Regions from separate parts of the Homo sapiens genome. Here all the other regions are linked to region 1. The links are contacts of gene promoters, found by promoter capture Hi-C in blood cells and fetal thymus (Javierre and others, 2016). All regions are on one chromosome and are shown on one strand. Each heading gives the region's core, a stretch centred on a gene start or on the middle of the fragment in contact. The rest is flanking DNA. Distances are from core to core; before and after follow the strand shown.

Region 1 (4,141 bases), core at 1,642-4,141:
TTAGTTAGACTTTCAACAGAACTTCCCCACAGCATGGACACCAGGGAAGAAGAAAGCAGCATGGGTCCCCAAAGGTCTGCAGCAAGTGGGCTGCCGGTCCCCTCAGCTACGTGGAAGCCAGACTGCTTGGGTTCAAATCCCAGCTCCATCACGCACTGGCTCTGTGCGACCATAAGCAAATCACTTAACCTAGCTGTGCCTCAGTTTCCTCATCTGTGCAAATGGTGATGCTAGCTCCTACTTCAGAGTGCTCCATAAACCTTGGTTACTGTCATTATTCATCAGTGGGGGCCAGGGCAAAAGACAGAAGTAGACTCACCATACATCTTGCCTTCATCAGACAAAATTATTTTCCGGCGGCCGCAGGGTGGATAGATGGCCAGGGCCTCCTGGAAGCTCTGCTCAATGTCTGGGCTCCACACCCCCTCTGCATCCGGGCCCCCGTCACCCCCAGCCCCCTCACTGCCGCCGGTACCCTCCTCACTGCCTTCCTCACTGCCCGTCCAGCCGCTGCCATCGTCCAGGGCGGCCCCAGCCCGGGGTTCCCCCATCTGGGCCTGGAGGAACACAGAACTCAGCAAGCTTCCCCCAAACCCCACCCTCAAGGGACTTGAAGCTGAGAGGGCTGGGACTCTGGACCACTGGGTCTGAGGGAGGAGGGGCTGGGGACCTGGACTCCTGGGTCTGAGGGAAGAGGAGCTGGGGGGTATTCCTGGGTCTGAGGGAGGAGGATCTGGGGCCTGAACTCCTGAGTCTGAGGGAGGAGGGGCTGGGGCCCGGACTCCTAGGACTGAGGGAGGAGGATCTGGGGCCTGGACTCCTGGGTCTGAGGGAGCGGGGGCTGGAGGCCTGGACTCCTGGGTGTGAGGGAGAAGGGGCTGGGGTCTGGACTCCTGAGTCTGAGGGAGGAGAAGGAGCTGGATTTCTTGGAAAGCTGAGGATGGGAGTGTTCTCAGAGTTTCCAGAGGAACTCAATTGTGATGAAGTCACAATGATTACCCTAGAGTAATGCCGAGGGCCATGAAGGCTAAAGGTTCGGGTATGAATTACGGGTTTTAAAGAAGACAGGAGGCAAAAGTTAGTGGTGGGGAAGGAAGGTGTGGGTGAAACTTCCCCTGTCCCACCCCAAGAACAGGTGGTAAGATGTGAGCAGCAGCTGCCAGAAAAGAAGAGGGGCCAAGCAAGACTGAGGGGAGGTCTAGAGAGAGGGGGACAGAGACCCAGAGAGGGAGGGGGACAGAGACCCAGAGAGGGGATGGGGACAGAGACCAGCAAGGGGGGGGGACAGAGACCCAGAGAGAGAAGGGGACAGAGACCAGAGAGAGAGGGGGACAGAGACCAGTGAGGTGGGGATAGAGACCCAGAGACAGAGGGGGACAGAGACCAGAGAGAGAAGGGGACAGAGACCCAGTGAAGGGGGGGACAGAGACCAGTGACGGAGGGGACAGAGACCCAGAGAGAGAGGGGGACAGAGACCAGAGGGAGGGGGGGACAGAGACCAGAGGGAGGGGGGGACAGAGACCAGAGAGGGGGACAGAGACCCAGAGAGAGGGACAGAGACCCAAAAAGAGAGGGAGACAGAGACCCAGGGAGAGGGGGAGACAGAGACCAGAAAGAGGGGGACAGAGACCGGGGGGGGGGGACAGGGACCAGAGAGAGGGGTCCAGAGGCCCAGAGAGGGAGACAGAGACCCAGAGAGAGAGGGTGACAGAGACCCAGAGAGAGGGGGACAGAGACCCAGAGAGAGAGGGACAGAGACCCAGAGAGAGAGGGGACCAGAGACCCAGAGAGAGGGGGACACAGACTCAGAGAGAGGGGGACAGAGGCTCAGAGAGAGGGCAACAGAGACCCAGAGAAAGGGAGACGGAGACCTAGAAAGGGCAGGGACAGAGACTCAGGGCAGCAGCTGAGGCCGAGACCAGGAGAGACCCACAGAACCACAAGCTGGGGGACAGGGGCGCCCTGCCATCAGAAGAGCCAGAACAAAGGGCCCAGGCGTCCCCTCCCCCAGCTTCCCACAACCCCCATCAGGGGAGGGGCTTGCCGGCCAGGGCGACTCCCCTCCGGCACCGGGCCCCGCCCCTCCCCTCCCCCGTGCGCCGTGGGCTCTGATCCAACTCAAGTTCCCAGTGACTTTCCGGAGGCCGGGAACAGGGAAAACTTTTTCCAATACAGTCAGATCCCGCCTCCCCGGAGGCTCCATGTCCTCCACAGCTTTCCCAGGACCCCAGAGTCCAGGCCCCTATTCCCCTCCTCCCGCCGACCATAGCAGACAAAGACCCCAGCCAAGCCCAGTGGCGCTGCGGCGTTCAGGACCCCCGTAGGCCAAAATCCCAGCCCAGCCCTTCCCCATGTGGCCAGACAAAGGGACGGTGGAGCCGGGTAAGAAAGGTCCCCCTAATTTCCCGCCCCAGACCCTAAACCTCCAAAGAGGCAAGACTTAAGATCCAGAAAGCCCCGTAACCTCCCCTCGGCCACCCCAGAGGCCCTCCCTTCTCCGTAAGAAGGACCAAATGCCCCCCAGATTACACAAGGGGTCCTTCTCACTCCAAAGTGACACCGCCGCAGACGCACGCCCCACACCCCGCCAGCGCCCTTGGCCCGCACCCGCTCCTGCGCGCACGCCCAAACTCAGACCCAGCCGCAGGCACCCTAACTCCGGCCAGAGTTCCCACTCCTCACTGAGGCTCGGTCACGGGAGCAAATTCGGGCCCCCGGGCAAAAAGAGGGCTGCGAACCATTCAGAGACGGTCCCGCAAACGCACGCCTCACCTCCTAAGAAGCAACTCCCCACCCCAACTCACACACCCCAAAGCAGGATCCCCGACTCCCGCCGGCGCCTTCCTACCTCCCGGCCTGGGGCTGGGGAGCCGCGGGCGGGCGGGGCGCTGCGAGGGAGAAAGTTGCCGGGAGCTTTGTTTGGGAAAAGTGGGAGGGACCGGAGGGGGGGGCGGGCCCGGCCGGCGGACAGCGGGAAGGGGGATCCGACGGTGACAGTTTGGGGAAGGATTTTTGCTTTGGGAGAGATTAGTCTATCTCGGGGCTGGTAGGAACTCAGGATTTGGGTGCTTGGGAAAGGAGGGGGATTGGGGGTTCGGACTCCAAGTCGGAGGGAAAAGGCTGATAGGAGCCAGAAACCCCTGATCTGAGGGAGGAGAGGCTGGGGGCTGGGACTCCTGGGTCTGGGGGCTGGGACTCCTGGGTCTGGGAGAGGAAGCGGCTGGAGAGAGATATGGGCTCCTAGGTCTGAGAGGGGACGGGGCTAGGCGCCTGGAATCCCGGCTACCCTCGTGTTTGTGTATTGGGGGTGCGGAAGTGATACGAATACAAAGAGTCTTTACTGTTAAGCCCTGAGGTTTTTTTTCTTTTTTTCTGTTTGGTTTTTGGTTTTTTTGTTTTTTGTTTTTTTTGTTTTTTTTTTTTTTTGAGGATTGGGGTCTGGGGATGGGTTTTGACTGATTCCTATGACGACCTGGTTTCCTTGTGACCTCACCACAGTTAAGAGTCGTGGGCAGGACCACCGGGAGTTTATTGGAGGCCCACGTAGGTGCAGATTCCTCATCTACAGGCGCTAGTGGACTGGAGACGGCTGGCGGCTGTCCCGGGACGGGGAAGAGAGCTTTGGTGCCTGAGGGAAGATGGCTTAGGGCCCGGTCCCTTAAGGGTGAAAGGCTGCGTGTTCAAAATTACGGGACTAGAGGGGGCGGGAGTCCGGACCTGAGGTCCTCAGGGAAAAGGAAGTCTGATTCTGGGTTCCTTGGAAGATGAAATATAAGACTGGATTTAGGGTTTCCGGAGACAACGGGACTTTTTAGTGGAGCGGGAGCGGGAAAACCAGAAGGGACACGGAGAAAAGGTTCCGAAACAGATACACAATTAGAGTGAGAGCTAAAAGGGATGCTTGTACTCCGGTGTCTCCAGTAGGAGGAGCCTAGGACTGGAACTTGGGGTGATGAGGGCAAGATCTGGGACGCAGGGGCGTGGTCCAGTGCAGGGGCGTGGCCCAGTGCAGGGGCGTGGCTTTCAGCCAAGGGGCGTGGCCATTGCGATTGGGCGGGACTCCGAAACGAGGGCCGCAATCAGAGAACACCGCCAGGACTTCCAGGACTTGGTCTCCAGGACTGAGGTCAACTGACGTGGG
Region 2 (4,591 bases), core at 519-3,018, 100 kb after region 1:
GGAGGAGGGGCTGGGGGTCCAGATTCCTGGGTCTGAGGGAGGAGGGGCTGGGGGCCTGGACTCCTGGGTCTGAGGGAGGAGAGGCTGGGGGTCCAGACTCCTGGGTCTGAGGGAGGAGGGGCTGGGGGCCTGGACTCCTGGGTCTGAGGGAGGAGGGGCTGGGCCTGGACTCCTGGGTCTGAGGGAGGAGGTGCTGGGGCCTGGATTCCTGGGTCTGAGGGAGGAGGGGCTGGGGCCTGGACTCCTGGGTCTGAGGGAGGAGGGGCTGGGGGTCCAGACTCCTGGGTCTGAGGGAGGAGGGGCTGGGGGCCTGGACTCCTGGGTCTGAGGGAGGAGAGGCTGGGGGTCCAGACTCCTGGGTCTGAGGGAGGAGGGGCTGGGGGCCTGGACTCCTGGGTCTGAGGGAGGAGGGGCTGGGGTCCTGCAGTCCTCGGTCTCAGCAGGAAGGGACCAGAAGTCGACTTCTAGATCATTTCTCTCCCTAGGTGTTCCAGGCTGGTGATGTGCCTTCGGAACGCCCATTCTATCCCCCAACCTTGGTCTCCAACCTGCCCCCAGCCTCCCCATGTGCCCAGGTGGAGGTGAGACCCTTAAGGCTGCAGAGCTCCTACCCACCGCCAGCCAAGGGCAGCAGCTCTGTGCCTGGGGAAGCCCTTGGGGTAACCATGTGACCTGGGCGTGGGGGCTGCTGCCTGCTCTAGGCTCCTTCCCTGGTGGGTGGGCCCTGGAGGGCTGAGCCTCCCGGTCACCCCTTGCAGGTGCCGTGGCCTGTGGTCGTGGCCTCCCCCTTCCGCACAGCCAAGGAGGCACTGTTGGTGGCCAACGGGACGCCCCGCGGGGGCAGCGCCAGTGTGTGGAGCGAGAGGCTGGGGCAGGCGCTGGAGCTGGGCTATGGGTCAGTCTGCGTGGCCCGGGCGCTCACTCCTCTCCTCATTCTTCCATCTTCATCTCCCTTCTCCCTGGGTCGCTCCCCGCGCCTTTAACTCACCCCTCTCCCGGCCTGCCACCGTCTGTTTTCCTCTGTTGGACACCTTCATCTTCCCCACAGGCTCCAGGTGGGCACTGTCTGGATCAACGCCCACGGCCTCAGAGACCCTTCGGTGCCCACAGGCGGCTGCAAGGAGAGTGGGTGTTCCTGGCACGGGGGCCCAGACGTGAGTACATCCCCTCCCCGTCACCAGCCCCCCCGCCGCCCCATGCCCTTGACACTCGCATCCGGCCTCGCGTGCCCCTTGCATCCTCTTGACACCGTCCCTCTCACAGGGGCTGTATGAGTATCTGCGGCCCTCAGGGACCCCTGCCCGGCTGTCCTGCCTCTCCAAGAACCTGAACTATGACACCTTTGGCCTCGCTGTTCCCTCAACCCTGCCGGCTGGGCCTGAAATAGGGCCCAGGTGAGTCGTTGGGGGCCAGTGGTCTGGGAGTGTGAACGGGGAGAGGGGAATTGATGCCTGTTTCCCCGTGGACTGGAGGGCTGGCGCGAGGTCCATCCAAACCATCTCTTAGTCCTGCTGAGTACCACGTTGTGGCCTCACACTTTCCCTACCCCAGGCCTGCCGAGACTCTCAGCTCTGCCCCATGAATGTCTGTACTCTCCCAGAAACTCATGGGTCTAGGAGCTTGGGGTCCCCCAGAGGTTCACTGGAGCAGAAGCTTGGGGTCCCTCAGAGGCTCATGGGAGCAGGAGCTTGGGGTCCCCCAGAGGCTCATGGGAGCAGAAACTTGGGGTCCTCCAGAGGCTCATGGGAGCAGGAGTTTGAGGTCCCCCCAGAGACTCAAGGGAGCAGTTTAGGGTCTACCAGAGGCTCATGGGAGCAGGAGCTTAGGGTCCCCCAGAGGCTCATGGAGCAGGAACTTAGGGTCCTCCAGAGGCTCATGGGAGCAGAAGCTTTGGGTCCTCCGGGGCTCATGGGAACAGGAATTTGGGGTGCCCCACAGGCTTATGAGAGCAGTTTAGGGTCTGCCAGAGGCTCATGGGAGTAGGAGTTTAGGGTCCCCCAGAGGCTCATGGGAGCAGGAGTTTAGGGTACCCAGAGGCTAGTGGGAACAGGGGTTTGGGGTCCCCCAGAGGCTCATGGGAGCAGAAACTTGAGTCATCCAGAGGCTCATGGGAGCAGGAATTTGGGGTTCCCCAGAGGCTCATGGGAGCAGTTTAAGGTCCCCCAGAGGCTCATGGGAGCTGGAGTTTAGGGTCCCCCAGTGAATCATGGGAGCAGGAGTTTTAGGGTCCCCCAGAGGCTCATGGGAACAGGGGTTTGGGGTGCCCCAGAGGCTCACGGGAGCCAAGGCAGTCTTCCCAGTGCGGTAGAGCATAGGGTCTGAGCAGATTGAGGCCCCAGGACTCCTCCTCATGTCCCACCCTACTCCAGCCCAGCACCCCCCTATGGGCTCTTCGTTGGGGGCCGTTTCCAGGCTCCTGGGGCCCGAAGCTCCAGGCCCATCCGGGATTCGTCTGGCAACCTCCATGGCTACGTGGCTGAGGGTGGAGCCAAGGACATCCGAGGTGCTGTGGAGGCCGCTCACCAGGCTTTCCCTGGGTAAGGGGTCACACGGGAAAGCCCAAGGGTCATGGTGTGGCAGAGAGGGGAGCCTGCCCACAGCAATTGGTGGACTGGGAGGCTGGGCCCCCAGGGTAGGGGCTGTGGACAGAGGTGGGGTGTCAGGAGAGCCAAGACCAGGATGCCAACCCCCACTGTGCGCTGTCTGCCCACAGCTGGGCGGGCCAGTCCCCAGGAGCCCGGGCAGCCCTGCTGTGGGCCCTGGCGGCTGCACTGGAGCGCCGGAAGTCTACCCTGGCCTCGAGGCTGGAGAGGCAGGGAGCGGAGCTCAAGGCTGCGGAGGCGGAGGTGGAGCTGAGCGCAAGACGACTTCGGGCGTGGGGGGCCCGGGTGCAGGCCCAAGGCCACACCCTGCAGGTGAAGGGTCTGTGGGCACCTGGGCCAGCTGGGCAGGCGGGGTGGGGCTCAGACCAGAGGCTGTGAGATAACCCAGGCTTGGAATTCGGGCCCAGCCCCACCGCCTTCCACGGCAGGATCATCAGCAAGTGGCTTCACCTCTCCCTACCTCAGTTCCCTCATCTGTACAGTGAGTGGGCACACAACCCGCCTCGTAGAGTAGCGTTCGCCAGATGATGGATAGCGACCCATTCCTGGACCCTAAAATCAATTTAGTGGGCTGTTAGGCGGTTCTCACATTGCTGTAAAGAAACACCTGGGGGCGCAGTGGCTCACGCCTGTAATCCCAGTACTTCGCGAGGCTGAGGCAGGCGGATCACGAGGTCAGGAGATCGAGACCAGCCTGGGCAACACGGTGAAACCTGGTCTCTACTAAAAATACAAAAAATTAGCTGGGTACGGTGGTGGGCACCTATAGTCCCAGCTACTTAGGAGGCTGAGGCAGGAAAATTGCTTGAACCCAGGAGGCAGTGGTTGCAGTGAGCCGAGATCGTGCCACTGCACTCCAGCCTGAGTGACAGAGTGAGACCTTGTGTCACAAAAAAAAACAAAAAACAAAAAATACCTGGCCAGACATGGTGGCTCACGCCTGTAATCCTAGCACTTTGGGAGGCAAAAGTGGGTGGATCGCTTGAGGCCAGGAGTTTGAAACCAGCCTGGGCAACACAGTGAAACCCTGTCTCCACAAAAAATAGATAAATTAGCTGGGCATGTTGGCACCAGTCTCCCTCTGGCACCCGGCTGGAGTGCAGTGCCACAATCATGGCTCACTGCAGCCTCAACCTCCGAGGTCCAAGTGAGCCCCCCACCTCAGCCTCCTGAGTATCTGGGATCACAGGCACACACCAGCACACATGACTGGGTGTTTTTGTATTTTTGCAGAGACAAGAGACTCGCCATGTTGCCCAGGCTGATCTTGAACTCCTAGCTTCAAGTGATCCGCCTGTCTTGACCTCCCAAAGTGCTGGGATTATAGGCGTGAGCCACTGCGCCTGGCCAGGGATTACATTTCAACATGAGATTTGGGTGGGACATCTGAACTATATCATGGGCCAAACCATATTTCTTTCTTTCTTTTTTTTTTTTTTTTGAGACAGAGTCTCGCTCTGTCGCCCAGGCTGGAGTGCAGTGGCGCAATCTCGGCTCACTGCAACCTCTGCATCCCAGGTTCACGCCATTCTCCTGCCCCAGCCTTCCGAGTGGCTGGGACTACAGGTGCCCACCACCACACCCGGCTAATTTTTTTTTTGTATATTTAGTAGAGACAGGGTTTCACCATGTTAGGATGGTCTCGATCTCCTGACCTCGTGATCCGCCCACCTTGGCCTCCCAAAGTGCTGGGATTACAGGTGTGAGCCACTACACCCGGCCTTCTTTTTTTTAAATTTTATTTTACTTTAGTTCTGGGATACATGTGCAGAACGCGCAGGCTTGTTACATAGGGATACACGTGCCATGGTGGTTTGCTGCACCTATTGACCTGCCCTCTAAGTTCCCTCCCCTTGCCTCCCACCCCCCAACACCATATTTATTTTTAACAAAAGAAAATAGACCAGGCGCAGTGGCTCACGCCTGTAATCTCAGCACTTTGCGAGGCCAAGGTGGGCAGATCACAAGGTCAAGAGATCGAGACCATC
Region 3 (4,121 bases), core at 1,083-3,582, 130 kb after region 1:
TTTCGCTCTTGTCGCCCAGGCTGGAGTGCAATGGCACGATCTTGGCTCACCGCAACCTCTGCCTCCCAGGTTCAAGCGATTCTCCTGCCTCAGCCTCCCAAGTAGCTGGGATTACAGACATGCACCACCATGCCTAGCAAATTTTGTTTTTGTTTTTGTTTTTTTCTTTTGAGACAGACTTTTGCTTTTATTGCCAAGGCTGGAGTGCAATGGTGCAATCTCGACTCACTGCAACCTCCGCCTCCCGGGTTCAAGCAATTCTCCTGCCTCAGCTAATTTTGTAGTTTTAGTAGAAACGGTTTCTCCATGTTAGCTAGGCTGGTCTCAAACTCCCAACCTCAGGTGATCCGCCCGCCTCGACCTCCTAAAGTGCTGGAATTACAGGCGTGAGCCACTGTGCCTGGCCCTAATTTTGTATTTTTAGTAGAGATGGGGTTTCTCCCTGTTGGTCAGGCTGGTCTCAAACTCCCAACCTAAGGTGATCCACCAGCCTCAGCCTCCCAAACTGCTGGGATTATAGGCATGAGCCACCGCGCCCGGGGAAATATAGGGAACATTTCTATCATGGCCACGTTCTCTTGGACAGCAATGCCCTAGCACATAGTAAGCGCTTGCTGGGAATGGAGTTGTTTTGGGCATAAATCTGTGGCCCGCCCCAAGCTAAGCTACTTTCCCTCTCCTCTCTCAGCGGAGCCTTAAACAACGCAGTGAGACAGACATCTATCATCCCATTTTACAGGGGAGGATACTGAGGCACACAGAGGGGAGTCACCAGCCAGAGGATGCATAGCCTGGACACAGAGGAAGTTGGCTAGAGGCCGGTCCCTTCCTTGGGCCCCTCTCATTCCCTCCCCAGAATGGAGGCAACGCCAGAATCCAGCACCGGCCCCATTTACCCAACTCTGTACAAAGCCCTTGTCCCCATGAAATTGTATATAAATCATCCTTTTCTACCAGCTCTGGCCAGGTCTGTCTATGGATGGGTGTGAATGGGGTAGTTTTGATTTCAGAATCTTGGTTTTTGAATTGCAATGCAATGTTTCATTCAATACGTGTTTTCTGAGGTCCCCTGGAGCCCCGGGCCGGCGCTGGGCAATGTCAGAGCCTGGATTTGAGTCAGAACCAGCCCAGGTGCCCCAGGTCTCCTTGGCTATGGACGAGAAGACAAGGGATTCAGCGAGCCTGGGTGCAGGATGCCATAGGCTACTATGGAGATAAAACAGAGGCAGTGTGAGGGGCAACTCACCCAGGCAGGGAGAGCAGAGAGGCTTTCCAGAGCCAAATGGCATTGCGATGGTGACAAGCCAGATTTGGAGGGGGTGGGGAGGGCATCCTGGGCAAGGGACCCAGCTGAAGCAAAGGCCGACAGTCCAGAAAGTGAGAAGTTCCTCTGAGGAACGCTCAGTGGATTGGTGCAGCCAGGCAACTAGAAGCCATTCCTTGATCCACTCTTAGAGCCCCTGGGGAAGACCACCTCCATCTGTTTTACAGATGGATAAACTGAGGCCCAGATAAGGCCAAGGGTTTCTCCAGGTCACAGTGAAGTCGACCAGACACAGGAATCCAAATCTCTAAGCCTAGAATGGGCAAGGCTCCGGGGCTCACGCCGGTAATCCCAGCACTTTGGGAGGCCGAAACGGGAGGATCGCTTGAGCCCAGGAGTTCGAGATCAGCCTGGCCAACATGTCAGACTCCCCCCGTTCCCGGGCCACAACAAAATATATATATATATATATATTAGCCAGGCATGGTGGCGCGCCCCTGTAGTCCAAGTTACTCGAGAGGCTGAGGCAGGAGGATCCCTTGAGCCCAGGAAGTGGAGGCTGCGGTGAGCCATGATCGCCCCACAGCACTCTGGTGTGGACAACACAGCGAGACCCTGTCTCACAAAATAAAGTAAGCCCGGACTGAGTGCGGAAAGGCGGGCCTGGCGGGTCTGGTCTCCCCATGCGGGCCACCAGAGGCCCTGCAGCCTTCAGTCGCTTGAAGGGGTAATGGCGCTTCCACTCACAAACATGGCGGACAGAGCGTGTGAACGAGATGAACAGCCCCTCAAAAATATGGCCGCCGAGGCTGGACGGCCGTGCCCCAGCAGCACCGCCTCCGCGCCCCACGTGATCTCTCGCCGGGCACAGCGCTGACCGCGGAGGTCCAACCGGAAGAATGTCCGGATTGGACATTCGGAAGAGGGCCCGCCTTCCCTGGGGAATCTCTGCGCACGCGCAGAACGCTTCGACCAATGAAAACACAGGAAGCCGTCCGCGCAACCGCGTTGCGTCACTTCTGCCGCCCCTGTTTCAAGGGATAAGAAACCCTGCGACAAAACCTCCTCCTTTTCCAAGCGGCTGCCGAAGATGGCGGAGGTGCAGGTATGGGCTCCGCGCGGGCCGGGGCGGCAAGGGGCCGGGTGGGATCCAGGCCGGAATGGGGTCGCACCCTCTCTGTCTTGCATGTTTTGCGGAGCTTAACATCCATAATGAAGCAAAATGGAAGTCTTTTGGGATAAGGGGAATCTGTAGGAAATGCCGCGGCTCTCTTTAGGCCTAGGGTTGGCTACAATGTGGCATTTCCTTCTCGAGGCGAGGGTGATAGAGCTTCCAGCACAGGACAGGTATTTTGCAACTAGATTTTGCTTACCTTGAACTCGGGTAGTGGGTGGGGGCCCTGGGGTAGAGTCTTGGCCGAATTGGACCCTTGTGTGTCCTCAGCGATGAGGAACACGCGGAAGTGTGGCCGGGCGGTCTCGGGGCAATGAGAAACTGAGTTTTGGCCAAAATGGAAGGTATTTTTATCCCGCTCAGTGCGCGGGCTACTTTGATTTCACGTGGAGGTGTTAATCGGGGTCCCCTGCAGCTCCGGTTCTTTTAATTCTCAATGCCTTTCTGCGGGGGGTCGAGAGCTGTTGGCTGCGGGGCACTCTGGAATGAACTCGTTTTCCGTCGTTTTGGGGATTGGCGATTGTCCTGAGGCGTGTTACTGGAAGTCGAGAGCTGTGATGAATGGTTCCACAAGGATGGGACATCTTTTGGGCCTGACACCTGGGGGCCCTTTCCCTGGCTCCTGGTGTAGCTACTTAAGTATAAAGGAGGGATTGGCCCTGGAAAGGTTTCTTTGTGAGTAGTCTGTTGTTGGGGCGGGTGACATTTCAGAGCCAGGCCGATCTAGGCAAGTTGTGTTCACCAAGCATGTGTCTTTGTGCCTAGCACAGTTCGCAATGTTTTGCGTAGTTCAGTTAACCATATTCCTGAGGCAGTTACTGGTATCCTTGTTTTACAGAGGAGGAAATTAAATTGGAATTGGTGATTTTGGGCCAAGGTCACGACTTCAGGAAGTCTGTCTGGATTTTAGAGTCTTTGTACCAACGCTTACAAAGCATGTGTAACAACCAGTGTGTGCTTCATGCTTTTGCATTAAAACAATGAGGATTTCTACTTTTAGTGTTTTTTCTGAGACGGAGTCTCGCTGTGACACCCAGGCTGGAGTGCAATGGTGCGATCTTGGCTCATTGCAACCTCTGCTTCCCAAGTTCAAGTGATTCTCCTGCCTCAGCTTCCCGAGTACCTGGGACTGCAGGTGCCTGCCACGACGCTTGGCTAATTTTTGTGTTTTTAGTAGAGACAGGGTTTCACCATATTGGCCAGGATGGTCTCGAACTCCTGACCTCAACTGATCTGCCCACCTAGGCCTCTCAAAGTGCTGGGATTACAGGCGTGAGCCCCTGTGCCCGGCCAGGATTTCTACTCCGGAGGAAGCTGAGGTTCGGTGCCTGAGCAGTTTACCGGGGAAAGCAGAGTGCTCTATAGCAGAGCTAGCATGGGCTTTTGACTACTCTGCCTAATCTCATCCCACCTGAAATTCGGTTTTCTTCCAAATTAAATTTGTGGTAGAAACATCCTATACATTAGAAGAGAATTAGATTGTGTTAACATCCTACAATTGATTGGCCACAGTGGCTCAAGCCTGTAATCCGAGCATTTTGGAAGGCCGAGGCACACGGTTCACTTGAAGCGAGGAGTACAAGAGCAGCCTAGGCAACATGGCAAAACCCTGACTCAACAAAAAAAAAAGTACAAAAATTAGCTGCGTGTGGTGGTGCGCGCCTGTAGTCCCAGCTACTCATG

The links. The method cuts DNA at HindIII sites, captures the fragments that hold promoters and counts their contacts. A CHiCAGO score of 5 or more calls a contact.
Region 2: a fragment that was not itself captured here is called in contact with the fragment with the promoter of TEAD2 in region 1 in 3 of 17 cell types (M0 macrophages, M1 macrophages and naive B cells); the score reaches 6.1 in M0 macrophages.
Region 3: the fragment with the promoter of RPL13A here is called in contact with the fragment with the promoter of TEAD2 in region 1 in 3 of 17 cell types (total B cells, naive B cells and naive CD8 T cells); the score reaches 7.4 in total B cells.

What each region holds. Positions count from the first base shown.
Region 1 is chr19:49,359,525-49,363,665 of GRCh38, forward strand. It overlaps TEAD2 (TEA domain transcription factor 2), which reads right to left and starts at 2,892. Exons shown (of 13, transcript NM_001256660.2): 1 at 2,809-2,892; 2 at 320-557. The coding sequence starts at 551. It also overlaps a transcript of DKKL1 not described here. RefSeq lists enhancers at 221-721, 1,267-1,976, 1,977-2,685. The HindIII fragment of the contact is 6,430 bases long and covers 581-4,141 here.
Region 2 is chr19:49,463,369-49,467,959 of GRCh38, forward strand. It overlaps ALDH16A1 (aldehyde dehydrogenase 16 family member A1), which reads left to right. Exons shown (of 17, transcript NM_153329.4): 9 at 486-581; 10 at 759-895; 11 at 1,049-1,154; 12 at 1,264-1,394; 13 at 2,370-2,537; 14 at 2,714-2,915. Among named protein-coding and RNA genes, the nearest start is that of FLT3LG, 8.6 kb to the right of the region's middle. The HindIII fragment of the contact is 235 bases long and covers 1,652-1,886 here.
Region 3 is chr19:49,485,276-49,489,396 of GRCh38, forward strand. RPL13A (ribosomal protein L13a) reads left to right here and starts at 2,333. Exons shown (of 8, transcript NM_012423.4): 1 at 2,333-2,369. The coding sequence starts at 2,355. FLT3LG (fms related receptor tyrosine kinase 3 ligand) reads left to right here. Exons shown (of 9, transcript NM_001459.4): 9 at 740-956. RefSeq lists enhancers at 1,721-2,220, 2,281-2,400, 2,309-2,913. The HindIII fragment of the contact is 13,590 bases long and covers 1-4,121 here.